Linked DNA regions of Homo sapiens: region 2 is linked to region 1. Evidence: promoter capture Hi-C in 16 types of primary human blood cells and fetal thymus (Javierre and others, 2016). All regions are on one chromosome and are shown on one strand. Each heading gives the region's core, a stretch centred on a gene start or on the middle of the fragment in contact. The rest is flanking DNA. Distances are from core to core; before and after follow the strand shown. Region 1 holds the start of TCEANC (transcription elongation factor A N-terminal and central domain containing). Region 2 holds the start of TLR7 (toll like receptor 7).

Evidence for each region. The method cuts DNA at HindIII sites, captures the fragments that hold promoters and counts their contacts. A CHiCAGO score of 5 or more calls a contact.
Region 2: a contact is called between the fragment with the promoter of TLR7 here and the fragment with the promoter of TCEANC in region 1, in 1 of 17 cell types (monocytes). The highest score is 5.6, in monocytes.

What each region holds. Positions count from the first base shown.
Region 1 is chrX:13,651,701-13,654,922 of GRCh38, reverse strand. It overlaps TCEANC (transcription elongation factor A N-terminal and central domain containing), which reads right to left and starts at 1,782. Exons shown (of 5, transcript NM_001297563.2): 1 at 1,735-1,782. It overlaps LOC107985657 (a long non-coding RNA gene), which reads left to right and starts at 1,484. Exons shown (of 1, transcript NR_171573.1): 1 at 1,484-2,426. RefSeq lists enhancers at 1,560-1,649, 1,910-2,099 and a silencer at 1,670-1,981. The HindIII fragment of the contact is 12,822 bases long and covers 1-3,222 here.
Region 2 is chrX:12,865,452-12,868,673 of GRCh38, reverse strand. It overlaps TLR7 (toll like receptor 7), which reads right to left and starts at 1,602. Exons shown (of 3, transcript NM_016562.4): 1 at 1,551-1,602; 2 at 1,093-1,193. The coding sequence starts at 1,095. RefSeq lists enhancers at 555-674, 695-764. The HindIII fragment of the contact is 8,610 bases long and covers 1-2,838 here.

The DNA.
Region 1 (3,222 bases), core at 533-3,032:
TCTCGATTCTAGTTCAAAAAAATCATTCAAAAATTCTAGTTCAAATAAATCTTGTTAAAAAAAACAAAACAAACAAACAAACAAACAAAAAAACCATGGTGCCCACTGTGGGCTAATGAAGTGGGTTTGAGGGGTCAAAACATTTGCATAAGGAAGGTCAAGCAGGTCCAGTTCCCAGAAGTGAGGGGTGCTGAGCAAGTTGGATAAGTTTCTTGACCATTCTGTGCCTCAATTTCCTCATCTACAAAATGGGAGAAATCCAACATCCTAGGATTAATGAGAATTAAATGAAAGTCTTGATAAAGTGCTTTGAACTATGGCTGTCACACAGTAAGTGTGAATAATAGGATGTGAATCTACAATTAAAAGGCTTAAAAATATCTACCAAACCAGGCATTGTTCTACAGCAGGGGGTCAGCACACTTTTTCTGTTAAAGATCAGAAGGTATATATTCTAGGCTTTGTAGGCCATACAATCTCTATGGACTACTCAACTCTGCTGCTATTGTAGCAGCAACAGCAGATACAGAAAATAACATAAATGGATAGGCATGATCTTGCTCTGGTAACACTTGTTTACAAAAACAGGCAGGCTGGATTTGGCTGCAGGCCATAGTTTGTTGACCCTTTTCTAGAGCAGGGCTGTGCAACATATATATAACATGTAAACCACAAATATGATTTAAAATTTTCCAGTAGTCATGTTAAAAAATAAAAATTGGTGAAATTAATTATACATTTTATTTAACCCAGTGTATCCAGAATAGTCATTTCAACATGTGATTAATATAAACAAATTGAGATATTTTACATTCTTTTTCATGCTAATTCTCGAAAATTCACTGTGTCTTACACTTACAGCACATCTCAATTCGGACTAGCCACATTTCAAGTGATCAAGCCTTATGTAACTAATGGCTATCATTATTGGGACGCCACGGTTCTAGAACTGATGCTAATATGGATAATGCTTGCTTAGGTGCATACCTATACCAAAAAGTGTATACAGTGCCAGGAAAAGTAGGCACGAAATATGGTATTGGATCCATATAAAAACTTATAAAGATTAGCTAATATTATAGTAAGCAAGGTGCACACATCTGCACAAAAATGGCCTAAACCCTGAGAAGAACGAGAGGAAAGGTCTGGAAACAATGTTTCCAGAAGTTTGTAACAAGTCAAAAATAACCTAGATCTGTTCAGATCTTTAGATCTCTTTAAAGCCTAAAGAGAAACTGTAACTTTCTAGCCCTAACCCACTTAACAGCTCCCCAGCTTCACAGGGAGCCCCGCCCTCTATGGAGAGAAACGATGCCAAATGTTGGCAGCGGTGTAGCGGTTACTGAACAGCCACTCAGCACTGCACTAGGACCATTTCCCTTAATGGTGACCCCTAGTAAAGGTGCAGCGAGAGGAAGGGACCAGCCCAACTGCCCGGTCTAGCCCGGGTTCGAGTTCCGGTGGGTGGGGTCGAGCAACATGCAAAGCCTGCCGCTAATCATCTTGGGATGACGGCCCGGCACCCAGCACACAAACAGCGACAGTCCCGAGGGTTCAGCCCACTCTGGCGACCTCGACAGTCGGAGAGGAAGGGGCGGGGGTGCGAGCACCTTCGGATCTACGCCGCCCAGGGCGCACCGGAAAGCTGCCGCGAGCCGGGGTGGGCTTCCGCTGGGAATAAGGGCTCGCCTTTTTGCGGGACACAGGCCCTGGCAAACCTGAAGCATGACTCACCGAAAAGCGCAGGCGCAGTTCCGGAGCCTTCAGCCGCCCAGTGCCCACGGAGAACTTCCGATCACCGGGACTGGGACAACGTCAAGGCTCAGCCAATCCAAGCCCACAGGCCGGCGCACGTGGTCCTGGGACCCAGTGCATGCGCGCTAGGGAAATGGCTGCCGTGGGACTGCGCTCGCGCGGCTTCCTAGAGGAGGAGCCATGGCCCCGCCCCGGGCCCGAGAGAAAGAAACTGCACTTTCGTTTTTTAGCAGCAAAGTTTGTTGATGTACTTTACAACTTATCTTTTCTGCTTCTACTCAGGACAGTCAAGACAGTGCTCAGCTAGATGTTCACATAACTGTAGACATAAATGTGAATCTATTTAACGCAGTAATTAATTCAAAAAGTGTTTTTAGCATCCTAGCATGCATCAGTTGATATGAAAGTAGTAAATGTTAATTGAGTGGTCTTGTGCATCCTGGACTTCTCATCTGTGCATATTCTCATTCTTTGCCTGCAAAGGGCCAGTAAAAGCACAGTGATGGTTGAACGAATGTGACAGCCTCCTTTGCTGATGCCTTACCCCAAGGTAATTTGGGGAAAGGTTCAGGGAAACAGAGTATCCAATCCAATACTCTGGACTGGGTGCTGGCAGGAAGGAGGGCGATTGTATGATTAAGTATCATAATAAATCTTACCTAAAAGGAGGGGAGACAAGACCAGTGACTCATTAACTGGGATAGGGGATGTTTGGTCATTTTTGTGGTTTGGACAATGTTTACGTTTTTTCAGCATTCCCACGTGATTACGAAGGAGTCTTGTTTTTGTCTTGATCCATCTGGTCAAAGAGTGGCCACGTCTGATGGTGTTCTGTGAAGTATTTATGTTCCACGCAGCACCAAGGCCCAGCTGTGACTGCCGGGGCAGCTCAGAGCTGTCAGGGGTTACTTTTTTCTTGCTGTCTATTATAGGGCTAAAATGTTTAAGGATTATATAATACCTTTTTAAAGAAAAAATTATTTGGCTGGGCGTGGTGGCTCATGCCTGTAATCCCAGCACTTTGGGAGGTCGAGGCAGGCGGATCATGAGGTCAGGAGATCGAGACCATCCTGGCTAACACGGTGAAACCCCGTCTCTACTAAAAATACAAAAAATTAGCCAGGCGTGGTGGCACGTGCTTGTAATCCCAGCTACTTGGGAGGCTGAGGCAGGAGAATCGCTTGAACCCGGGAGGCGGAGGTTGCAGTGAGCTGAGATCGAGCCATTGCACTCCAGCCTAGCGACAGAGCAAGACTTGGTCTCAAAAAAAAAAAATTATTTAATGACACTTGTCACTTGTTAAAGCATGGTAAGGAAGACTTTATTCAGGACCATTGAGATAGACATAGGTACCACTGCAACAGGGTCTTGCAGTGGGGAAGAGAGATTGGGCTCAACTTCAATTGTAGCATGGAAAAGTGAGAATTTATAGCCAAGGAGCAAGGTAGGGGGGTCAGTGGATGGAAA
Region 2 (3,222 bases), core at 353-2,852, 790 kb after region 1:
ACCTAATAACTCACACTTGCATCATACCACTTGCAAAGGACTTGAAAAATAGTCTATTATTTGAGCCTCACAGTGGCCCTGGAAGGCAACAGGGGAGGGATTCTAATGCCTATTTCATAGTCAGAGAAATTGAGTTTCAGAGGACTTTGATGACAGGCACAAGGCCCCCCCAACTAGTGACTGGGAGAGCCAGCGCTGACAAAGACTCTCCTTAATTCAACTTAATCAGGCTCTACTACACCCCTAGGCTTCGGCCTTTGGCTTCATGTCCATCTTTGCATTGCCCAGTTCAAGCAGGAATCCTGCTAAGTCATTTTATTGATAATCCACTCCTCTTGGTATGTGATCACCCTCAATATCTGATCAAATTCCTCATCTCCCACCATCCACAGGTGAGGTCTGATCACCCTGGCCTGTCTTCAGCAAGAATCCTGTCAGGTCGGTTTAGCCAGAATCCTTTTACCCTTGATGTTTCCTCTTAGTAATTTTCCATCCACTGACCCCCACTCTACTCCTTGGCCAGAAATCTTTACTGGTCTTTGGCTGTATTTGGAATTGAGCCCCTTTCTATACTGAGGTCTCTTTCTGCCGATTGCAATAGTCCTGATAGTATCTTTATCTACTGTCCAAATTTAGTTTTCTTTGACAGCACTCAAGCCCGGGGATTTCCCGTATTTTATTGCTATGAGCCTGCCCACACACTTTCATCCACACAGTCATTAAGACAACACCATATGCTGGAAAAAGCACAAAGTAACTTCAGTAATTCAGTGATTTGTTATGGCTTTAAAGCCAAAATTGTAGGCTGAAGAAATGAGATACATAGAAGCTATGTCCCCAATTCAAACATCTGCTCCTCCTCCCCACAGCACATATTTAATTCTTGTAGGAAGTTGAACAGAGCAAGCGTTGATTAATCTGAAATTGTGACATGCCCCCTTCATTAATGCCAATTGTGAAATATCAGGAAGCACTTTCCCCCAGCAAATAACCTAAGTACAGATTCTTCAATATTGCTCTTGCCAGCTGGTTTCAGTTGTTTCCACAAAGATTACAGATAACACTTTTTAAGGTTCTCTGAGCTGTTCTTACCATTTTTAGTCTTCTTCCAAAATGGAATGTAGAGGTCTGGTTGAAGAGAGCAGAGCATGAGAGGTGCCAAGATCAGCTTGAGATGGGCCCAATAGCATCAACTAAGAGAAAGAGAAGACATCAAAGTTTACATTTCAAAGACAGCACAATACTGTAGCTTAAAGACATGCTAGGATCATTGCTTTAAAATGCGTTTGAAACATCTATTTACAGTATTTACTTCCTCAAAGTTAGGTAGACTGGAGACATATTCCAGAAAACCATTTCTAACGTTACTGAAAGCCTAACTTTATCTTTGAAGAATTGACATTTTAGACTACCACATTTTTTATTTATATTCTAAAAAAAATTTTTGTGCATATGATTTCGGTTCCCTCTTCTCTCCTCCCCACTTCCTTATAACAGCACATACATCTACCTACTTAAATTATCTATATGTGTTCCAATGTTTAAAATACCTTTCTTGATGGCATGGAGTGATCCTATATCTGGAGTCTTCTGAGATGAAGTGATGGGAGGCAGGAAGTGTAGTCACAAAGACTACAGGCAGCCAGCCCTGGAGTTTCCAACTACAAAGATCAGGTCGGGGGATGGGGAGGAGCATGATTATTTAAGCCACCCCAGATATGGGCTTTGCAAAAGCACGGGGTTCCTCTTATTTCTATCACCACTATTGGGGCAACGTCTTGTCTAAATCCAAACAACTCTGTAGACCAAATTTCTTTCGTTTTTATAGCAGGGTTTCTCACCCTCAGCACTATTTACATTTTTGACCAGATAATTCTCTGTTGCACCATAGGATATTTGGTAGCACCCTTGCTCTATACCCACTAGATGCCAATAGCACTGCCCCCTTCCAGTTATGACAATCACAGATGTCTCCAGACATTGCAAATTATCCCCTAAGGGGCAAAAACACCCCGGGTTGAGAACCACTGTTCTATAGATATATTAGAGACATATCTAAATTTACCTTATTCTGTCTTAGACCCAGCTGGAAAGGATGCTGGTTTTTAAGCAGTGGCAAAGCTACCAGTTGGTTCACTCACTTTCCTCTAAAAAAGTTCAGCTGCATTTGCTTCTCAAAGTGTGGGCCCCAAGAGAATTGTTCCTTTCTTAACTGATTATTGGACATTTTGTAGATAGAGCCAAAATATGGTAGTTATGTTTAAAGTTCTTTAATCTACTTAGTCCACCTGGAGAGAATTTGGATGATGTAGAGTGTGGCACGGGGACTTCTGCAGATAATGATCAGGGTTAACATATACTGGGCTGAAAACTCAATGGTGCAATAGAGCAGCTCAAAAACCAGATACAGTAATAAGTGACATTTATTGAGGGTTTTTTATGAGCCAGACACTGTTTTAATGACTTTATATGTATTATCTCATTAAATACTAAAACTATATAAAATAGAGATCTTATTACCCATTTTTTACAAATACTGGAATTTATAACAGAAGAAATATTGGATTTGCCTCAAGTCACATAGCAAGTGATACCCACACAGGCAGTAAAAACCAAATGTCTCCTTATTAAACCACTCTGCTATGCAACGATATGTAAAAATCAATAGTTTTCTCATACATAAATAATTACTGATCCAAATTGGTAATAGAAGAAGAGGTCCCATTCAAATCAGTGAGATCTGAAATGCTTTGGAAGAAAACTGATGGGAAATGCACAAGAACTAAGGTGGTGGGGGGAGGATGGGGACTATAATGCTTTACCTGGCAGGTGCAAGCTTTCTCTTTGCCCCACCAGACCCACTGTCTCAGCCTTTTATCCTGTTCTGTGTCTCTGGAGGCTGAGCTATATGTGCTTCATCAGTAGCCCCTTGCTCGCTGGCTTCTGGTTGGGTTTGGCCAATAGGAGGCCGTGGTTGGAAACTGAAGGGCAGGAAGAGGGAGAGCAGAGCCTGCCTCCCTCTGGCTCCCTCCGCCTGGCCCTGCGTTGGCTGCAGTCCTCTAATGAAGCTCTTGTTTGGTGATGCTCTCCTCCCTGAATTCCAGTAATCGTTCCTTCTCCTTCAGCCTGAGGTCGGAAAGACTCCCCTCTGAAGTGTTGCATCATCCTTTCTTACTTCCTTAAATCCTGTCCAAATATATAAATAGTCACTTTGCTGAACTC